2 separate regions of the Homo sapiens genome follow, and region 2 is linked to region 1. The links are contacts of gene promoters, found by promoter capture Hi-C in human tissues and cell types (Jung and others, 2019). All regions are on one chromosome and are shown on one strand. The core of a region is centred on a gene start or on the middle of the fragment in contact, and the rest is flanking DNA. Distances in the headings are between cores, read along the strand shown.

Region 1 (6,531 bases), core at 1,714-4,213:
CTCCTGCCTCAGCCTCCCAAGTAGCTGCAACTACAGGTGCGTGCCACCATGCCCGGCTAATGTTTTTGTATTTTTAGTAGAGACGGGGTTTCACCCTGTTAGCCAGGATGGTCTCGATCTCCTGACCTCGTGATCTGCCTGCCTCAGCCTCCCAAAGTGCTGGGATTACAGGCGTGAGCCACCGCGCCAGGCCAATACAATAGTATTAACTAATCTACAGACCTTGTTTGAATTATATCAATTGTCCCATTAATGTCCCTTTTCTGAGCCAGGATCCCATCTATCGTCTGGATTCCACACTGCATTTTGTTATCTCTTTTAATTGAAGATGGCTCCTCAGTCCATCTTTGACTTGAATGATCTCGATACTTGAAAAGCACTGGCTGGTAATTTTGCAGAATGCCCCTAATTTGGGGTTTGTCTGCTCTTCATTCAGATTCTGCCTTTTGGGCAAAAATACCCACAAGTGAACTTGTGTTCTTCTCAGGAGGTCCACAGTATGTCCTCTTACTGGAACTAACTTTTTTCATTTCTATTGAGGCAGAATTTATATACAATGCAATACACATGTTTAAATGGTACAATTTGCTAAGTTTGCTGGTGACCTTGATGGCTTGGTTAAAGGTGGTGTCGCCCAAGTTTTCTTCCACTCTAAAACTACTATTTTCCCTAGGCAATTAGTATCCTGGGGGAGAAACTTTGCAACACTGAAAACAAAACAAAACCTGTTTGTCATGTTTTTGCCCACTATTTTTTTTTTTTTTTGAGATGGAGTCTCACTCTGTCACCCAGGCTGGAGTGCAGTGGCGTGATCCCGGCTCACCACAACCTCTGCCTCCCAGGTTCAAGTGATTCTCCTGCCTTGGCCTCCCGAGTAGCTGGGACTACAGGCACGTGCCACCATGCCCAGCTAATTTTTTTTGTAGTTTTAGTAGAGACGAGGTTTCACCATCTTGGCCAGGATGGTCTTGATCTCTTGACCTCGTGACCCACCCGCCTCGGCCTCCCAAAGTGCTGGGATTACAGGCGTAAGCCACTGTGCCTGGCCTAATTTTTTTGTAGGGGGTTGGGGGCCGGGGACCGAGTCTCGTTCTGTTGCCCATGCTGGAGTGCAGTGGCTGGATCTTGGCTCACTGCAACTCCTGCCTCCCAGGTTCAAGCAATTCTCCAGCTTCAGCCTCCGTAGCTGGGACAACAGGCACCTGCCACCAAGCCCTGCTATTTTTTTTTGTATTTATAGTAGAGACAGGGTTTCACCATGTTGGTCAGGCTGGTCTCGAACTCCTAACCTCAAGTGATCCGCCCGCCTCGGCCTCCCAAAGTGCTGGGATTACACGCATGAGCCACTGTGCCTGGCCTTGCTCACTATTTTTTCTGGAGACGGTCTCGTTCTGTCACCCAGGTTGGAGTGCAGTGGCCCGATCTCAGATCATTGCAACCTCCACCTCCCGGGTTCAAGCGATTCTCCTGCCTCAGCCTCCCGAGTAGCTGGGATTACAGGTGCCTGCTACCACGCCTGGCTACTTTTTGTATTTTCAGTAGAGATAAGGTTTCGCCACGTTGCCCAAGCTGGTGTGGAACTCTTGAGCTCAGGTGATCCGCCTGCTTCGGCCTCCCAAAGTACTGGGGTTACAGGCGTGAGCCACAGGGCCCGGCCCACTATTTTTATCACTCAAGATTTTCGTCTACAGCAGCTATTATTGGGGTGGCTACCCAGTGGAAAATTTTTCTATTTCCACTATTCCTTCCACATTTATTGACAGGAAAGCTAGTCTAAGGAAGAGCTGTACCCTCACTTACTCAGACCCTCGTTTTCCTTTTTTTTTTTTTTTTTTTTGAGACGGAGTCTCACTCTGCCGCCCAGGCTAGAGTGAAAGTGGTGCTATCTCGGATCACTGCAGCCTGGAACTCCTGGACTCAGGTGATCCTTCCACCTCAGCCTCCCGAGTAGCTCGGACCACAGGCGCCCGCCACCACGCGGCTAATTAAAAATAATTTTGGGCCCGGCGCGGTGGCTCATGCCTGTAATCCCAGCACTTTGGGAGGCCGAGGCGGGCAGATCAATTGAGGCCAGGAGTTTGATACCAGCCTGGCCAACATGGTGAAACCCCGTCTCTACCAAAAATATAAAAATTAGCCGGGCGTGGTGGTGGGCGCCTGTAATCCCAGTTACTCGGGTGGGTGAGCCAGGAGAATCGCTTGAATCCGGGAGGCAAAGGTTGCAGTGAGCTGAGATCGCGCCACTGCACCCCAGCCTGGGAGACAAAGCGAGACACCGCCTCAAAAAAAAAAAAAAAAAGAAAGAAAATTTGTAGATACTGGGCTCTCACTATGTTAGCCAGGCTGGTCTCGAACTCCTGGGCTCAAGTAATCCTCCTGACTCGACCTCCCAAAACTCTGGGATTACAGGCGCAAGCCACCGTGCCCGGCCGAACCACCGTGCCCGGCCGAACCCTCCCTGTTTTGGAAATCCTGTATTAGCAAAGGGGACAGCGCCAGACAGTTGAGCACACGCGTTCTTTATAAATGATGATGTCTGATACAGTGATGCTTTTAACAGGGTTGTGTAACGCCTGTGTGTGCACGGTCTCTTCTGCAGTGTCCACCGAAGGTGGCCCGTCTGCGTGTCCGCTCCCGGCGTACTCCGCGCTCCCTGTTCCCGGCATTCCCCGCGCTCCCCGAGCTTCCCGCGCTCCCCTGCTCCCGGCATTCCCGGTGCTTCCCGTTCCCGGCGCTCCTCGCGGCCGCCGCCCTCAGTCCAGCGAGCCCCGCCTGGGCAGCGACTGTTAGCGCGACCGCGGCCTGGGCGCCTGGTCCCTCCCGCGCGGCCGCGCTATTGGGCCGCGCGCGGCGGACACACGCGCTACGCGCCGCCGATTGGCGGCCTCCGCAGCGCGCTCTGCGGCTCCCCCAATGCGGGGCGGCCGCGCGCGGGGATTGGCCGCACGCCGCGAAGGCCCGCCCTCCGCTCGCCCGGCGCGGCAGGCGGGTGCCGGCGACCGGAGAGCCTGGACAGGCTTTCCAGATGGCTGCGGCGGTCGGTCGGTGAGGCTTTCCCGGCTGTGGTTTGGCTGCGGGCGGCTTGGGCAGCCCGCGGGCGCCTCAGGTAGGTGCGGGGCGCGAGGGGCGCCCGCGGGCGGTTGGGCGGGCGCCGCGGCCTGCGCGAGGGCGCGCCCTTCCCTCCCGCCTCCCTCCGGGACCGAGGCCGCGGGCGGGGCGGGGGCGCGGAGCCCGGCCTTTGTGAGGCAACATGGCCGCGGGCGGTGGAGAGCGCGGGGTGGGGACGCCTCCGGGGCTGGGGGGCGGGCCCCGGGCCCAGGCGTTGCCGACTCTCGTCGCTGTCCGCCCGGGTAAAGAGGCTCCTCTCCCGGAGGGCCCGAAGCCTAGCATCGCCTTCAGGCGGGAAAGGTGTGGACAGGGCCAGTGCTCGCCTGGGACCCTGCCGGCTTTAACACAGTTTGGGAAATCCAAGAAGTCGCCTAAGTCTTTTTGTCCACAGAATGCTCACGGGTTGAGTGTCACGTAGATAATTGGGATACGGTTTTATTGTAACAATGAGCATGGCGGAAATAAATGGAAGGTGGCAACCTGTTGACAGTGATGCCTGTCTGGTGTCAACCGATGGACTTGGGTTTCTTGTGGCAGGAGTCTGATTTGCCTTTTTGCATGCTTGCATGTACCTTGTTCCTGCACGGCAGTCCTGTCTTTGGCTGTCGACTGTTCGAGGCCAACCACCAGGCGAGGATCCACTGTTTCCTGGCCAGACTAGACTCCCAGCTGTGGGAGTGGCCCAAACCCTGCTGCAGGCCTTCACTCACAAAAGGGAGTGAATGGCCAGCCCGGGGTACCCAGTGTTGCCTCTAAGTGCGGGATATGAGGCCTGTTGGAGGATGACAAAAGGAACGGATGAGGTCATACTGCCGCTGGGTTGGGCGGGAGGCTGCAGCGGGAGAGACTTGACCAAAAGGCAGCCTCCATGGCGCTGGCACTGGTGCTGGCCCGTCACAGCCAGTGCCTCTGTTAGCCAACACAGCAAGTGGGCTAGGAGGAAGGGTGCTGTCCAAGTGTACGGGTTTTCTCCCCGTGCCAAGGGTCCAGGGGAGCTTGCCGTGAGCCCGTTCCTGTCCGATAGTCCTGTTGGCAAGGCAGGGTTTGCATGCGGTGTTTGGTCAGCTGGAGCAGTGGGGAGGCCTACGGGCAGAGAGCTCCCCTTTGAGCCCTTTGCGGCCAGGCGCTGTGTGGAGCACTTCCCAGGGGTTGTTTTGTAGTCTCACCGTGACCTTGGGGTAGGAAATGTGCTTCTGGCTGGCTTGCCCAGTCTTAGACTCTCTTGTTGTAGCCCTCTCCTTTGTGATGTCACCCAGCCTCCTGACTTTAATGCCAGCTTTCCTTGACATCTTCACAGCTCCAGCCCTGGCCTCTCTTCTGATTTCCAGCCTGGTGTTTCTGGCCACCTCTTCCATATCTCCATGTGTTACTTTGGCGCCAAGTAGCCATATCCAAACCAAACTCAAATCTTCACCCATGCCAAAACATTCCTTGGCCTATCTAAAGTCCCTTTGATTCCTCTCTTTCTTACACCTTCATGCAGTCCTAAGGAGGCCCCGTCAGCTCACCTATTTCTAAGCACAGACCATTTCTCACCACCTTCAAGTTAACATCCTGGCCCAGCCTACCTGGTGAGCCTCTAATTCTCTTTACTGTCACCTTAGGTCCTCACTCCCCATCCACCATCTATAGTTTTTCTGGACACAGAGTGATTCTTCTTTCTTTCTTTTTTTTTTTTTTTGTTTTTTTGAGACAGAATCTCGCTCTGTCGCCCAGACTGGAGTGCAGTGGCGTGATCTCAGCTCACTGCAACTTCTGCCTCCCGGGTTCAAGCGATTCTCCTGCCTCAGCCTCCCAAGTAGCTGGGACTGCAGGCGTCCACCACCACCACGCCCGGCTGATTTTTGTATTTTTAGTAGAGACGGGGTTTCACCATGTTGGCCAGGCTGGTCTCGAACTCCTGGCCTCAAATGATCTGCCTGCCTCAGCCTTCCAGAGCGCTGGGATTACAGGCGTGAGCCACTGTGCCTGGCCACAGAGTGATTCTTTTTATTTTTTTGAGACAGAGTCTCGCTTTGTTGCTCAGGCTGGAGTGCAGTGGTGCGATCTCCCGCTCACTGTAAGCTTCGCCTCCTGGGTTCAAGCCATTCTCCTGCCTCAGCCTCCCGAGTAGCTGGGACTATAGGCGCCCACCACCACACTCGGCTAATTTTTTGTATTTTTAATAGAGACGGGGTTTCAATGTGTTAGCCAGGGTGGTGTCGATCTCCTGACCTTGTGGTCCGCCTGCCTCAGCCTCCCAAAGTGCTGGGATTACAGTCGTGCACCACCGCGCCCGGCCCAGAGTGGTTCTTTTAAACCATAAGATGGTATAAAACAGAGGCGGTGTAGATGCAAGCCAGCTTGCCTGCTTGTAAAGCAGCTCCATCACTTCCTGGCTGTATGACCTTGAGCATGTGGGTGAACCTTTCTTCCATAATGCTATGTGAGACCTGGGTGAGTTAAAATGCTTAAAGTGCTTAGAACAGGGCCTGGCTGAGGTTTGGTTGCCACTGCTATCCTGGAATCAGCTGATGCCACTGTGTGGGCCTTCCTATCCGGTGGCCCATCTCTCTCACTAAGAGCCAAAGTCCTGGCAGCAGCCTGGGAGGACCAGCCCTGATCCATCTGCCCTCATGGACTTGGCCCACTGTCACGTCCCCTCAGCACACTGCCCCAGCTGGCCACACCACATTCCTGACCCCAGCCCTCTGCTTTTCCTCTCAGTGTCACCTGGAACATCCCCTCCTCCCAGCCCTGTAACCCACCTGGCTCACTCCTGCCTTCACGTGGATGCAGGCCATGAGGCCTTCTTGGATCCCCCTTCCTAAAACTGCCTCCCCTTCTTCAGGCGCTTTCCTTGTTTTGTTTTTGCTTGAATACTTCTTGGCATGTGACAGGGTGCATGCTTTTCTTAGTTGTTAGCGGTCCATCTCCCCCACTAAAATGTGAGCTCTGTAGGGCAGGGTTTTGTCCACCTTGTGTCTGTAGCATCTAGGATGGTGTGTGTGTGTGTGATGAATGGAGAAAGCTTATAGAGGGGAGGAAGGAACTTGCCCAGGACTGCCCACCACTGAGGTCTGGGGCTGGGCAGGTTTCCTGCTTTCCTAAGGAGCTCACTCACTTGTAAGGCACCAGGCTTTCCTGCTGTGCATTTCTTCAGTGCCGCCGCTTGGCCCCATTAGCACCTTTGCTTGGAACGTCTACTCTAGCTGCTTCTTCGCCTTCTGTGGTAGCAGGCTTCCCCATTCCGTCCCACTGTTGGTCTCTAATCCCCTGCTCCTTGTGGCTTCTTCATGTAGCTTTTTGTGTCCCAGAATCATGGATTGACTCACCAGGGTCTCTATGGGACTGCCAGGTTCTGAGGTGTGTGGCCCTGGTCTTCCTTGTAATCTGTGGCACTGGGCGCATTGACCCCTCGGTCTGTTTTCTCTAATGGTCTTT
Region 2 (6,411 bases), core at 2,968-5,467, 330 kb before region 1:
TCACCCCTGCCCCTTGCCACTGGGTAGGGTGGGCTCAGGTGTCAGCTGCCACCAGGTGGGGGGTCCCCCTATCTGAAATCCAAGATGCTTGATGCTGGCTGTTCTTATAAACCATGGGGGGAGGCTCTGGAGCTAGGTCCAGGCCATAGGCCAACTGTTGATTGGGGTTGGGGTGGGGGCTGTCAGGAGGTCTGAAAGGGCCTGGGCACCGATTTGGAGACTTCCAGCCTTAAGATCAGAGCAGGGGACAGTTGGGGCCACATTAAAAAAGGTAGCACGTGTAGAATGAAGGGGGAGACATCCTGTACCAAGAGGCTGGTGTCCAGACCCCGGGACTGTGTCCTCAGCACCTGCACAATGACCCTCACTGCATCCTCATGGTAGAATTTGCAGATATGATGTAGAGGTGTGCGTATATGTGTGTAAAGGGATACATGGCAGGTATAATTTGCTGACACCATGCTAGGGACTCTACAATCATTTTATCACTTCTCACAACACCTACAAGGCTCCGGGGAGTCAAACTGGGATATTTCTTTTACCACTGCAGCCTCAGACCTCTGCCCTGGTCCCTGATCCAGAACACAGTCACCCCACACTCCCCTGGTCCTGGGCTAGCAAGGAGGGCTGTGGAGGAGGCAAGCAAGCTCCAAAGTGCAGCACTGAGGCTGGGGCGGAGACACTGAGAGTCCGAAGGCACCTCCATCCCTAGGAAGCAAAGCCAGACACCCAATTCTGGAGTCAGAAAAAAGCCCTTCAATTTCCATCCCTGCAGCCCAGTGTCCCACCACCCTCAGGGGAGAAGGGTCGCTTTGCTCTCCCTGGGGCACTGTGTTTGCTTACCTCCCAGGCAGCTCTGATGTTGCATAGCTCTTTTTCATTTAGGAGCAGTGACTTCCTTCCCGAAATTTCTTCCCTTAGACCTGGGCTGCTTCCTCTGACCCTGCACAGCCCTGCAGATGTTTGCAGGGTATCGCCCTATTTTATCTCCCTAGACTGAAACATACTCTGTCCTGAGTTAAGACTCTGGCTGGTTGTAGCAGACTTTAAGGAAAGAACTTAATTGCAAAAATTCACTCTAAGTGTGGGCGTGACTAAGACTCATTGTGTCTTGAATGTGCAGAGATGGATAGGAGGAGCTCGGGGGTTAGTGACATTGAGGCCACATGAGGGAACTCTCGTGAACACTCAGTTGAAGGGTTCTGGAGTTGGGAGGCTAGTGAACCAGTCCCACCAGTGCAGGGCTGACGGCCCTGTGTCCAGAGACCCCCAAGCCCAGCCTGTTCCTTGAGCCAGGGCTGCCGTGCCTCTGCCCAGCCTCCAGCTCACGAGGGCTGGCTTAGCGGGATTCATGTGCCACCCCCTCGGTGACATCTGAGACCATGCACGTCTTGGTTGTGCCTTGTTGCTCTCTGCTGCTCTACACAGGGAGACAGGCCGGCTGGTCGCCTCGGGGGTTATCTTCCCTGGCCCCCGAAGCCCTGGTGACCCTGAGCCTGACCCAGGGGGAACAATGACACAACAGCAAATGCCCTGGGGCGAGTGCCACCCTGACAGCCCCAAGGAACAGAGAGAATCAGCAGGGTGCAGGGCTCAGCAGGTGCAAGGGGAGAAGGCTGGCTTATGTGGTGGTGGGGACAGGGCACAGGGCCGGGAGGGAGGGGACAGGTGGCCAGGGGCTCTGTCTACATGGGAGCCACATGGGGGTGTGGGTGGGCACTGCAGAGAGGGGCCCTGGTCATGGGGTCCACAGGAGAGCCAAGCCAGCCTAGAGGATCCAGGGATGGCCCAGGTGCTCCTGCCCCACCTGTTCCAGGCCAGCTGTGTCAGGGGTACTGCCTCCGTTTCTCCAGGCTGGGACCTCCACTGCAGTGGGTACATTGGACACTCAGACCAGCCCCAGGGCCTGGCAGTTCCTGGTGAAGACTGAGACAGCCCGACACCCGTCCACACCCCCGCCCAGGATGGGGTGGCTGCTGGGTCACTCGGTCCTGGCAAACACGCTGGAGGGAGGGGCTGGATTGACTTTAGGGCACTGGTAAAAGCTCACATCCATCTGTCCACCCAGAACAGCTGGTGCCAAGCACCCACTTAGCAGGACAGGGCAGCCCGCGCCTCCACACTGCCCATGCCCCCTCCCGTCTCCCAGGACGTCCACACAGGAGCCACATGTGTCCTGGACCCACGCCACCCCCCGCTCTGTCCCTCTGTTCCCTGAGCTGGGCTGGCAGGGGAAGCTGAGGTGTACAGGGATGGCCAAGGCCTCCTCCCTCCCCCCTGCACCCCCTAGCCCCATTGGCATTACCTCAGAGCAGACAACAGCTTAGTGGGGACCCAAGTGAGGGGGTGTCAGTGGCCCAGGCCCTGCCCTGCCCAGTCACTCAGGCAGCTAAGAGAGCAGGAAGGGCCCAGACGACACCCCCACAGACATATGCCAGCCCCTCCGGGTGACCAAAATCATCTCAGTAAAGGCAGATGAGGCCAAGCGAAAAGGGGTGGGTGGAAGAACCGGCTCTGAGTCTCAGCCCACAGACACTCGGACACTCGTCGGCCCGGTAGGCAGGGGTTCCTGGTGGCCTCAGGCTGTCAGGCCCGGCCCCCTCCCGCAGCTGTCTCCAGCTCCCACCTCCCCCGCCCACCCCCCAGGACTCCTATTTCACTGAGGAGATTAAGACCACCTGGCGAGAACCCCTCCCACCCCTCCCCTCTCCCCAGCCCTCCCTCCTAACCCTGTCGGCCCCTTGAGGTGCCCTCCCGGCCCCGGCCCTCCTCTCCCATCCCCACGTTCCTCCACGGCAGCCTCCACGCCCTGCCCTGCCCTGCCCTGCCATGGGCCTGAGGATGTCCCCACCCGCTCTGATGGCCACCTCGGGTCACTTCTCCTCAGCCCATACCCTGGCCTAACCCCCACCCTGAGCCTCCAGTCCCTCCAATCCTCACCCTTTATGTCCCCCAGCCCTGCATAGATACAGGCATCGTCACCAGCCACGGCAATGGATCCCGTCCACCTCCCACCCGGCCACTCCAGACCCAAATTCAGCACTGGCTTCAGCCTCCTGCCATTCTTGCTGGGTCTCAGGAGGGAACCGGGCCAGCCAGGTGCTGTCTGGGACTGTAGGCTCTGAGCCTGGTCCCTGCTCAGTTCCAGCAGCCAGTGGGCCAGGGGTGCTCAGCTGAGGACCCCCACTCCATCCAGCCTGCCGTGGGGCAGCCGGCCTGGCCTGATGCTGGCTCAGACAGACTCATGAGGAATCTGAGCTCTGAAAACCGCAGCTCCGAGCTTGCCTGTTTGTTTGCTTTTGAGAAATTCCAACCTGGTTCAGCAGAGCCTTGGAGGAGGGAAGGGATTTGTCAGGTCTGGGGTGGGGCTGGGGCAGGCTTGTGGATGTGGGGAAACCAAGGCTGAATCTGGGCACAGGGACCCAGTGGGGAAGCCGGGAGAGGGTGCCTAACTGGGCCTCCTGGGGGGTCCAGCTGTGATTCCCCCTCCCCAAACCTCACGCCAGGCCTGGAGGCTCCACAGGGGCTATGGAGGCAACAGCCACCCTACTCACAGTGCTGGGAGGACCTGCGGGGCTGGGAGGGGCCCAAGGAGGCCCTGCAGCAACAATAGTGACATCAGCTGGGGAGCTGCAATTGAGGGCCCACATGTGCTGGCTCCATCCACCCATGGGGCCTGCAGCATTCTCCCCACTTCTCAGATAGCATCACTGAGGCTTGCAGAGGCCAGGGCGTGTTCCCAGACACAGAGCCCTGAAGGGTGAAGCTCGCTCCTGGACCCAGCTCCTGAGACTGGGCGACATCACCACGCTGGTTCCTCCCTGTGCAGAAGGGCCCAGAGTACAGGGGTCCTGCCGAAGCAGTCCTGTTCTCCTTTGAAATGAAATATTGCCAGCCTTCTCACCAGCTCCTTCCCCTGGGAAGGCGGGAGACCAGACAGAGTTGGCAGCCCCCAGCCCTGCATCGCCACCCCGACCAGGGAAAGCTGCCTGTGCAACTAATCTCTCCAGGCCCCGGTCCCCCTCTGCCCACGGGCTTGGGGATCCTCCACAGGTCTCAGCAAAGGGGTTCCCGTGCTAGAGCCTTGCCCATCAGGGACACTCCCCAAAACCTGCCCCAGCCTGGGCAGCCCACCTGCCTTTGGCCCCAGGTCAGTGAGGGCGCCTCAGGTCAGCCCCCACAAGCACAGGGGGAGATATGAGCAGGGTCTGCCCAGAGCAGTGGGCAGGGAGGCTCAAATGCCAGCCTGGGCACCTGGGCACAGTCCTGGCCTAGGAGGGACAATCCAGCAGCCTTGGGGGCTTGGCCAGGGAGCAGAGTGGACCGAGAGGCACAGGGTGTGGGGCCAGTCCTCCCCTCCACTGAGACAGGATTTCCACACAGTCTCTCCCAGCAGTCACACTGGGCTGTCACAGTGACAGTATGGACTACTTGAATCAATTGAGCATTTAATGAAAACTGCAAGTGTGATATATTTGACTACTTTAAATGCTTTAAGCATCTTTAAAGAGAGATACAACATATCCAATGTTTACGGGGGCATGGCCTCGTTAGGACCCATTAACAAAGGTGCTGAGGTCACTGGCTTAGTTGTCATTCCTCATTGCCTCTGGCCCTGTCCCCAGAGCCTTCCTTCTCAGAGCTTCCCAGGGCTCATTCGCCACCAAGCAAGATTCAGGGTTGGGGTCTGAGCATGGAAAGTGGCCTCCCAAGGAGTTCCACCCAGAAGGTTCTCTGTAGACCGATCTTGTCTTGAGAGTCTCTTCCAGTACCAATGTCCAAGGAAGCAGGCTGGCCAGTCGGATGCCATCATCCGAGTGCATCCCCTTCAGAAATGACCCAGCAGGAGAGGACTGAAATATTGCATTCTTCCTTCCTCACACAGCAGCAAGCTTCCACAGTGCTTCGCCCAAGTCAAGTCAATCCAAGGCACATGTGAGCATCGTCATTATTGTAGAAGGGTTACAGTGGCCACTGTGAGTGATAAGCCTGCACATGTGTGCGCCTGTATGTATATCTGCTACATGTGCTGTGTGTGCACACTCTCTCACACTGGTGTCTGTGTTGGTGTCTGCTATGTGCATGTGTGTGCCCATGCTCACGTGTGTCTATGTACAGAGGTGCATGCATGCCCGTGCTCACGTCTGTGTACATGTAGAGTGCCCATGCTTGCGTGTCTGCAGGCATACAGTGTGCATGTGTGCGTCTGGGCCCAGTCCGTGTGTCTGCATGCAGTGTGCCTGTGTGTGCCCATGCTCACGTCTGTGTGTCTGATATGTGCATGTGGACACATGTGCCCATGGTCACAATATTGGTATGCTCACATGTGTAGGCATATGTGCCCACACTCCCATGTATGTGTGCCTGAGTATGAACATGGTGTGAACACACACATACACTCATGCTCATGCTCATGAGTATGTGTGCACGTGGTGGTGTGGGTGCTTGAACATGGGCAAATGGGAGCTACTGTCCAGTCAGGGTTCCCTGCTGCCCAGAGGAACTGGAGGGGCCTGTCTGCACGTGTCCATCTTCTGGCCACTCACCCTCAGCCAACACTCCTCCAGGGTCTTTTGGGACAAGTCCCTTCCCCTGGCAAGTGTGGCTCCCCCTGCTGGGGCCACAGAAGGGAAGGGGGCTAGCAGGGACTGGTTCCTCAGCTGGCCCGCCAGGCTGAGATCCAGCCACCTCACCAGCCTGCACATAGGTCTTCCAGGGTCTCAGAGCCTCACCTCTGCCTGGCTGCACCTGGGGTGGAGGGGCTAGTGTGGCCAGGAGATGGACAGACAGATGGACAGCCAGCTCCCCATGTGGCTGGGTCCTCCCACCAAGTGGGCAGCTAAATCAACAGCCTCAGAAATTGGAGAGGGGTCCAGGGCTGGGCTGTCCATCAGTCTGTCTGTTTGTTTGTTTGTTCTGGAGTTGTGGGAACTTCCAGTCTGCAGGGAGTCCTGGTGCCTGGCGAGGTCGGGGGGCAGAGGGTGCCATTACCCATCCGGCCAGCCATCCCTCTCATCATCTCCCCACATCTGTCCTCCTGGGAACTTGGCCCAGAACATCGCACCCATAGTTGCGGGGGACAGCTAGGCCGGGTGACAGGAGGTTGGGGACCAGCTGTATGCGGCTGGCTGTGCAGACCCTGGCCGGCCCCCTCCCGGCTGGGAGGAGGCTGGTGTCACACGGCTGTGTGCTTCCCTGTCCAGTCTTCTCTCCACCCATTACCCCATCCCATGTCTGCCTCTCTCAGGGTCTCGCTGTTCTCTTTGTCAATCCTGCAGTCTTTTGTCCCCCAGGGTCCAGGCACTAGGACTCTCAGGCGGGTCAGACCCTGCCCTGGGACCAGGGAGCAGATGGTGCTGGGGCCTAGGAAGAGTCCCAGGGGATGCTCTGGGCCGGGTGAGGGGGCCACAC

Evidence for each region. The method cuts DNA at HindIII sites, captures the fragments that hold promoters and counts their contacts. A contact is called where the count stands out against the background at its distance.
Region 2: a fragment that was not itself captured here is called in contact with the fragment with the promoter of DGCR8 in region 1 in 1 of the 25 tissues and cell types used here (dorsolateral prefrontal cortex).

The regions. Positions count from the first base shown.
Region 1 is chr22:20,077,278-20,083,808 of GRCh38, forward strand. It overlaps DGCR8 (DGCR8 microprocessor complex subunit), which reads left to right and starts at 2,964. Exons shown (of 14, transcript NM_022720.7): 1 at 2,964-3,106. RefSeq lists a silencer at 2,843-3,462 and enhancers at 3,723-3,782, 5,887-6,505. The HindIII fragment of the contact is 8,782 bases long and covers 1-5,645 here.
Region 2 is chr22:19,748,059-19,754,469 of GRCh38, forward strand. No RefSeq gene overlaps it. Among named protein-coding and RNA genes, the nearest start is that of TBX1, 9.5 kb to the right of the region's middle. The HindIII fragment of the contact is 4,857 bases long and covers 1,790-6,411 here.